Regions from separate parts of the Homo sapiens genome. Here region 1 is linked to region 2. Evidence: promoter capture Hi-C in human tissues and cell types (Jung and others, 2019). All regions are on one chromosome and are shown on one strand. The core of a region is centred on a gene start or on the middle of the fragment in contact, and the rest is flanking DNA. Distances in the headings are between cores, read along the strand shown. Region 1 has its middle 14 kb from the start of TMEM218. Region 2 holds the start of VSIG2 (V-set and immunoglobulin domain containing 2).

The links. Contacts are between HindIII fragments. The study calls those that stand out against the background at their distance.
Region 1: a contact is called between a fragment that was not itself captured here and the fragment with the promoter of VSIG2 in region 2, in 1 of the 25 tissues and cell types used here (aorta).

Annotation. Positions count from the first base shown.
Region 1 is chr11:125,122,986-125,127,290 of GRCh38, reverse strand. No RefSeq gene overlaps it. Among named protein-coding and RNA genes, the nearest start is that of TMEM218, 14 kb to the right of the region's middle. The HindIII fragment of the contact is 3,133 bases long and covers 765-3,897 here.
Region 2 is chr11:124,749,669-124,754,234 of GRCh38, reverse strand. VSIG2 (V-set and immunoglobulin domain containing 2) reads left to right here and starts at 1,980. Exons shown (of 7, transcript NM_014312.5): 1 at 1,980-2,158; 2 at 2,655-2,812; 3 at 3,314-3,521; 4 at 4,369-4,527. The coding sequence starts at 2,098. It overlaps ESAM (endothelial cell adhesion molecule), which reads left to right. Exons shown (of 7, transcript NM_138961.3): 6 at 1-21; 7 at 274-1,109. The coding sequence ends at 589. RefSeq lists an enhancer at 2,221-2,782. The HindIII fragment of the contact is 14,367 bases long and covers 1-4,566 here.

The sequences.
Region 1 (4,305 bases), core at 1,082-3,581, 370 kb before region 2:
TTTGACCCAACTCTGGCACCCGACAGCAAGAGGGCTGTAGGCTTGTGATCTCTTGCCTGTGTGGTAGCTGGCTAAGGTAAAGCTGCTGGAATGGGAAATGGAGAAGCAAACCACTGACCTAAAGGACGTTAAGATGAGAAGCAACTGGGAGACTGCCAACGGACCAGGCTGCCCTGCAGAAAGAGCTTGCACCCTTGCTCTGGTCTCCTCGTTCCTCTCTTCAGCCTCTGGCAGCTCTGCCTCTAGGGTCAAGGGACTCACAGAAGTCCCCAGGGCTTTCATCTGCCAGCTCCCTCCTTTCTCTCCAATTCTTCTCATAGCTCCTTTATCTGCTGCTTATGTTCCCTGCTCCCCAGTGGACTTCTGCTCTGCTCCATCCTAGATGCCTTAGGTTCAATCTGCATCCACCAAGTTACCTGTTTCCTTGGATATTCACTCTTGGAAAGCCTTTCTTGATTACATATGGACATGTGAGAAAGACAGGACCAGGACTGGAGAACATTTTTATTCTAATTATGAACGTATTTGGTTTTATTTATTTTTTTTTTCCTGATCTTGAGTCTGGTTCTTGCTTAAGTACATAATTGATAGAGCTTACCCCTCAAATCATCTTTTATATTTCCCCAGTAATTTAAAGCTAATGATTTCCATCACTTTAACTACAGTAAAATCAAAGTTTTTGACATTAGCAGCTTTGGGAGATCCTCACCAATATTTGGGATTTTGAGGCTAGAGCACTATGAGGGAATTACATATCATCCAGGGCACGTGATCCAATTTACTGGTCTTACATCTCTTACCATTAGAAGAGTCTTGCTTTGTCTTACTTAAATGTACCATCCTCCTGGGCTGTCCATTCCATGAGGAATACAGATGTTCATCACAGCCCTCTCTGGAGACTCTCTCACAGCCCTTTAAAATAGTCCCTATCTCACCCTTCTCATACTGCAGTAAGGGGACCTGGGATGGGGAGTAAAATTCATTACCCCTTCTTATAGATGAGAAAACTAATGCCAAAGGGGAGAAGGGGCTGTATTAGAGTCATGAACTTGAGAGAAAAGGCCAAGAATAGAGCCCAGATGCTCTGATCCCCAAACCATTGTAGCTCCAACAAGAGAGCCTCCATTTTGGAGGCTCCAATGAGAACCTCCATGTTGGTCTCTTGACCATTGTCAAATGTCATTACCTCTCTGCAACCTACCTGCTCTGGTATCTCCATCAGTGAAGCTGGTGTTAGCTAGCAGGTTTAGTTTGAGTCTTTGATTCTAACTACTTGTTACCAGCCCTGCCTACATCCGTCTCTTAACCAAGAGACCAGCTTTCACTCAGCATCTCATGTTGGTTGATTTCTGAGAAGGATGTGGTACTCCTGTCTGAAGCTGCCCTGTATCCTGATTTCCTGCCAGGATGATCAAAATTGATTTCTACCAGGAGGATAATCCAGCCAGGGCTGTTCTGGGGCAGAAGACAGAGTTACCATGGGGCCACTATACTCTTTTTTAAGATTATTGGGGGCCAGGCATGGTGGCTCATGCCTGTAATCCCAGCACTTTGGGAGACAGAGGCAAGTGGATTGCTTGAGGCCAGGAGTTCAATAACAGCCTGGCCAACATGGCAAAATCCCCTCGCTACTAAAAATAGAAAAATTAGCTGGGTGTGGTGGTGCACATCTGTCATCCCAGCTACTCCAGAGGCTGAGGCATGAGAAACACCTGAATCTGGGAGGGGAATGTTGCAGTGAGCCAAGATTGTGCCATTGCACTCCAGCCTGGGCGACAGAGGGAGAATCAATCTCAAAAAAAAAAAAAGAAAGAAAGATTATTTGGTCTTTGGAACTAGTGATCTGCTCAAACAGAGACCCTTAGACTAATAAACTGATGAAGGGTAGAATGTCCGATGCACTTTGTTCCTTCTATGAGCTCCTTAAGGAGAAGAAAAATACATAGAAGTCTATCTGACCCACTGTTCCAGCAACCTGGAGAAGAGGTGTCATCTGCCATGTCAGTTTCTCATCTGGCTGTCATGCTGGGCTTCTTGGAACACTTCTGACCCCAAACAGGACCTAGAACAATGGATGCACATGGAAAGTGCCCAATAAATACTCGTCGACTTTAATGAAAAAGTAGTTTTAGCATTCTACAATATCTCTGTGGGATTCAGAGAACTCTTGCTCTGGTGTAGAGGCTAAAAGACACAGAAAAGGAACTAAAATGAGTTTGGCACTGAGACAGAGTAAAGAAGTGTCTATAGCCTGGCGTGGTGGCACATGCCTGTAGTCCCAGCTACCTGGGAGGCTGAGGCAGGAGAATCGCTTGAACCTGGGAGGCGGAGGTTGCAGTGAGCCGAGATCACGCCACTGCACTCTAGCCTGGGTGACAGTGCAAGACCCTGTCTCAAAAAAAAAAAAAAAAAAAAAGGAAGTGTCTAAACATGAGCTAGAGATCATGTCTTCCTGTAACATCCCAGATTATCCACATGCAGTGACTCAGGAGCTAATGTTGGCAGACAGAAGAGAATGAAAGCTTATTTCTAAGACTCTGAAATCAGTGGAAGTGCTCCATCTCTATGATCCAAGGAACACCCAGGCCTATTTCTGACAAAGAGAAAAAAGGAAATAAAAATTCTTGCTCAGGAAACTAAAAAATTTTTGCAGAACTGAAGAACTTGCTGTTTCATAGCTTTAGCTAAACACGTCTAGCTTGATTATCAAATATTAGAATTGGGAGAAACAAGCACTGATGCAAGTAAAAGAATATTCTGCTGCTGATTTAAAGACAAGTGAATCGCTAAATATTTTTATTAGCAGCAAATTTGCTGCTTGCTGGAACTAATTTCACGCCCTGTAGATATGGTGCTTAAGTTGGAAATGGCGTTAAATTGCTCTCTCCTTGAGGCGGGTAGGATTTCTGGTGGCAGCAGCCACTAGGTGGCACCGACAAGGTAGCTCCTCAAAGATAGGCAGCTTTGGAACCAATGATAGGAAAGTCCAGAGGAAGTCCTGCCTTACATTTCCCTTTCTCCTTCCAAAGAAAAGCCCGTGCTCCAGATAGCAAAATCTTTCAGAAAGGAAGTTGCCTAGAAAGGAACATTACTCCTAAGGGTCTTGAATTTCCCAGTTCAGTCTTTTCTCTAAGTTCGTATAACACTTTCAGTTAGCACGTCCAATTTGGCAATCAGTTAGAATTTATAATTTCTTGCATGTTAGCACTATCTCTTCAACCACACCACAGCTTCTAGAAAGGACAGGTTACATTTTATTGCCAGTACTGGAGCCCAGGTGAGCAAACAGTGTGTATAACTTGCGGGCTGGGGAGCTAGACTAGAAGAACTGAGGCAGAGACAGCAACACAAAGGATGAGACCAGGTTAGATCCAAGGCAGGACAGAATGCAGAGGTCACAGCACAATTGGGCAACTGAAATCAGGTGGGAATTCCAAAGCAGAAGCAAATCCAGGACTGAGGTCAAGGAATTGCCGTGGCTCAGAATCCAGTAAGTGAGCCAAAGTCAGAGGACACGTTAAATAATAAAGGTCAGAGCAAGCTGTGGGTGGACAAATAAATCAAGGGAATGCAGAACCCAGATGCCTAAGGGAAAAATAAAGCCAAGAGGCCAACAGGTCAAAGTGAAAGTCAGGAAAAACATAATAGCAGGGCAAAACACACACAAAAAGTTTGACGTACTCGTTAATCAGATGTTTAGTGGTCAATTCATGCTAGAACCAAAGTGGATTCATTAAGAATAAGTTTTGCTAAATTGAACTTATTTCCTTGTGCAATAGAGTTATGAAGTTGATCAATCTGATTGTGTTATTTACTCTCCTGCTTAAATACTTCTGACTTAGCTAAACCCTTCACCTACAGAATAAAGCCAAAATTCCTTATCATAGCATTCAAGACCCTTCACACACTTTTCAGCTCTTGACACTCATTTCCCTGAACCTGGTCCTTAACTCACACTAGAATATTTGCTATTTCTGAATCATGCCAAAGACATTCACTTTTCTATGCTTTGCTTCTCCTATTTCTCCACTCTGGAATTTCTTCCTATCTCCATTCTCTACTTATCTCACAAAAACCCTATGTATTTTCTTTTCTTTCCCTTTCTTTTTTTTTTTTTTTTTGAGACAGGGTCTCATCCTGTCACCCAGGCTGGAGTGCAGTGGTGTGATCTCAGCTCACTGCAACCTCTGCCTCCTGGGTTCAAGCGATTATCATACTTCAGCCTCTGAGTAGCTGGGATTATAGGCACATGCCACCATACCTGGCTCATTGTTTTGTGTTTTTAGTAGAGACAGGGTTTCACTA
Region 2 (4,566 bases), core at 731-3,230:
GGAGCCAGCCAATGATATCAAGTAAGTGTCCCTGGTGTCTGCTGCAGCGGGGGCTCTCCCAGCTCTCCTCACAGAGGCTGGGAATTCAGGCAGCTCTCATCTATTGGGATGGGGTCAGTGGCTGAAACATCATTCCTATGGGCAGGTTTTAAGGGAGAGGGAAAGGAGTACTGAAGTGTGCAGGCAGAGGTGGTATATAAGACCAAGCAGGTAGAAACTCTCTCCTCCTTCCCCCACCCACTTCTGACCTCTTGTTATTTCTTTGATGACTAGGGAGGATGCCATTGCTCCCCGGACCCTGCCCTGGCCCAAGAGCTCAGACACAATCTCCAAGAATGGGACCCTTTCCTCTGTCACCTCCGCACGAGCCCTCCGGCCACCCCATGGCCCTCCCAGGCCTGGTGCATTGACCCCCACGCCCAGTCTCTCCAGCCAGGCCCTGCCCTCACCAAGACTGCCCACGACAGATGGGGCCCACCCTCAACCAATATCCCCCATCCCTGGTGGGGTTTCTTCCTCTGGCTTGAGCCGCATGGGTGCTGTGCCTGTGATGGTGCCTGCCCAGAGTCAAGCTGGCTCTCTGGTATGATGACCCCACCACTCATTGGCTAAAGGATTTGGGGTCTCTCCTTCCTATAAGGGTCACCTCTAGCACAGAGGCCTGAGTCATGGGAAAGAGTCACACTCCTGACCCTTAGTACTCTGCCCCCACCTCTCTTTACTGTGGGAAAACCATCTCAGTAAGACCTAAGTGTCCAGGAGACAGAAGGAGAAGAGGAAGTGGATCTGGAATTGGGAGGAGCCTCCACCCACCCCTGACTCCTCCTTATGAAGCCAGCTGCTGAAATTAGCTACTCACCAAGAGTGAGGGGCAGAGACTTCCAGTCACTGAGTCTCCCAGGCCCCCTTGATCTGTACCCCACCCCTATCTAACACCACCCTTGGCTCCCACTCCAGCTCCCTGTATTGATATAACCTGTCAGGCTGGCTTGGTTAGGTTTTACTGGGGCAGAGGATAGGGAATCTCTTATTAAAACTAACATGAAATATGTGTTGTTTTCATTTGCAAATTTAAATAAAGATACATAATGTTTGTATGAGATAAGAAACAAGTTGCCTTTTCAAACTAAGAATTCTTGAAATTGAGCTTCAGGAGGATGCAAAGTGGACCCCTTCCCAAGCTGTGTACCCAGGAGGGCTTCCCCCCACAGGCTTAGAGCAGCTCTTCTAGTGTTTAGAAGGGTCCTTGTTTGTCACGTGGAGAAGGGGAGGAGACTCTAAGCTACTCTGAACAGCAGAGGGATGGAGTTGATACGCTTTCTGCTGGAGCTTGAGTGCTCCCGGCTAGGGGGTACGTGTACCTCATCTGCTTCCTCTTCAGGGACAGGGGAGAGGAAGCTCACGTGGGCTCCTCTCCCACACCACGGAATCCTTAACAAAACACTCCTTGCCCATCTGGAAGAGATCTCTGTTGTTACTGAGGGAGAGCTGGGCATAGTATGAGGTGCAGGTCTGTGTCCAAGTTCTGCCATGTTCTTTCCTACCAAGGGTGAGGTCTCCTTTAGGTCTCAGTTTCTCTGCCCCTAAAATGGAGTGGCTCTGGAAATGGAGAGATGCTCATTTCTACAGAGACTCCTACCTCAGTAAGTGGTGAAATGAAAAGCGCTGTGGACAGGAAGGGTCTGCGGCCTGGGGCTCACACTCACAGTGAGGCTCCGAGGTGGGGACTCCCCTTGCCAGCTCTGGGGTATCAGGACGCCTTCCAAAGTCAGCTTTCCTTCCGTCTCTGCAGAAGGCCCACCCCAAGCCCAGCGCTTTTCCCAAGGCCGGACAGCTTCAGACCTTGGGGAGAAGAGGAAGGAAGGAGGAAGAAGGGACAGAGGGATTGCAGAATCGGGGCTGGAGGAGAGGAGGGAGGAGCACTTTTTTTTTTTTTTAACCTGCGGCGCCGGCCTCTCCCCTGTTTGCTCTGAGATACCAGTCTCGCTCCTGCCCAGCCCGGGCGGCTGCCCTTGGGTGCTCCCTTCCCTGCCCGACACCCAGACCGACCTTGACCGCCCACCTGGCAGGAGCAGGACAGGACGGCCGGACGCGGCCATGGCCGAGCTCCCGGGGCCCTTTCTCTGCGGGGCCCTGCTAGGCTTCCTGTGCCTGAGTGGTGAGGAGGGGCCGGGCGGGACCACGGCGAGGGCTGGGGGGCATAGGCCTGGCTTCCCCGGCTCCTCGGACCCACTCTGTCCCCGCCAGGCCAGATGAGGCTGCCGTGGGCGCCAGGGGCCCTAAGGCGCCTGAGGTGAGGCCGGAGAGGGGGTGTCCAAGGCCCGGAGGGCGTAGGAGAGAGACCCCCAAGCCGGCGAGCGAGTTGGGCCTCTCCGCGGCACAGGCCTGAACCACCCCACCGCAGGGCTAGTGTTTTCCTTTCTCTGCTAAACACACACACCCTCTTACCTGGCCCGGTTCCGGCTCTTTTACCCACAAAGACCCGGCCCCTCCCGGAAACCTCAGGTTTTGGGAAGGGAGGGGTTGGATTGAGGGGAGAGGGTTGTGCTCTGGGGAGGGAGCCCCCAGCTTCCAATATAGATGCCCGGGGGTGGGCCCGACCCTCCAGATCACTGGAATTTGGGTTCCCACCTCCCTCTGGTCCCCGGCCCCAGGGCTGGCCGTGGAGGTGAAGGTACCCACAGAGCCGCTGAGCACGCCCCTGGGGAAGACAGCCGAGCTGACCTGCACCTACAGCACGTCGGTGGGAGACAGCTTCGCCCTGGAGTGGAGCTTTGTGCAGCCTGGGAAACCCATCTCTGAGTCCCATCCAGTGAGCTGAGAGCGACTGCATGAAGCTGGGTTGGCCTGGAGGGACAGGAGCCCAGGATGAGGGCATGGGGTCGGGAGGGGGAGTTTGGGGATCAGTATGCTTGGATGAAAAGGTAAGTGGGCTCTCCCTAGATCTTTTCAGAGCTGCAGTCTGCCTGACCGTGTATCTTCCTTTCCTCTTCCATAGCTCCTATTTCCAACTCCCCTGCCTTAGTGTATCCATTGACACTAAGGTGTTGTGACTGATACCAAGATAATATGCTGCCTCTTCTGCCTCTCTCTTTGAGAGAGAGAGAGAGAGACCAATGGATCAGGTTCATTTAGCACCTGAAAGGGGGTGGTGTTTGGGGACAGAGAGACCTTTGGAGTTCCAGCTTAAGGGTATCAGCCTCCCTGGCTGATGTAAGTCAGAGGCCTCTTATACCCACTTTGATGAGGAAGGACTGTAGAGTTGATGCCAGGCAGAAACAGGCACATATGTGTGTCTTCTGCCTCTCCCCAGATCCTGTACTTCACCAATGGCCATCTGTATCCAACTGGTTCTAAGTCAAAGCGGGTCAGCCTGCTTCAGAACCCCCCCACAGTGGGGGTGGCCACACTGAAACTGACTGACGTCCACCCCTCAGATACTGGAACCTACCTCTGCCAAGTCAACAACCCACCAGATTTCTACACCAATGGGTTGGGGCTAATCAACCTTACTGTGCTGGGTAAGGCAGACTGGGGATCCACGAGCCACATACTCTTTCACATACTTGGGGCGTTTGCACTGGTCTTGCTAAATCTCTGGTTTCTGACTTTTAGCCCAAGCACACAACTGCACTGGGGGCCCCAAGTGAAAATACTCCCTTTCCAAGTCTTCTAATTCAGATGGTCATACTCCAACTCCACCCTCCACCGAGAGCATCTCCTCCATCAGAGCCTAATAACAGAGTGTGTGAGAGAAAGTCCTTCCCATACATGGGGATCTGAGCCTGCTCCCAGCAGCTCCATCATGGGGGAGGCTCTCATCGGTAGTTGGATTCTGTCCCTCCCAAGGTCAATGGCAGAGAAGGGGAGTGGCCACCAAAGGAACAAGGGCCCCTATTACTGAGCACCAACTTCGTGCTCAGAGCTTCTGTCTCACCCCAAACTAGAGCCTTTTCAGAGATGAGCAACCAGAAAAACTATCACAGAGACTGGCAGTGTTTAGATGGAAAAGAGAAGGCCTCGGATGGGTGTATTACTGCTGGATTCAACTATCCAAAGGGCTGTCATGTGGAGGAGAGATTTTAATTTCTCTTTGTGGGCCCAAAGGGCAGGAACTGAAACCAATGGGTGGAGGTTATGTTAACACACATTTTGGCTCAACATGAAGAAGAATTTTCTCTAACAATCAGAATTTCCAATAGTGGAAATCCCTCAGTTCCTGGGGATGCAGTGGTGTGTGGACCCAAGAGGACCACTGTTTGATAGGGGTATTGAAGTAGAGAATGTAGCACCTAATGGAGTTGGGAGTGGGGCTGGAAGATTGCTGAGGAACTTTCTGTTTTTTTTTTTTTTTTTTTTTTTTTGCAGTTCCCCCCAGTAATCCCTTATGCAGTCAGAGTGGACAAACCTCTGTGGGAGGCTCTACTGCACTGAGATGCAGCTCTTCCGAGGGGGCTCCTAAGCCAGTGTACAACTGGGTGCGTCTTGGAACTTTTCCTACACCTTCTCCTGGCAGCATGGTTCAAGGTAAGGGCCCAGGGCATCAGGAAGAGGGTACTGGAGACC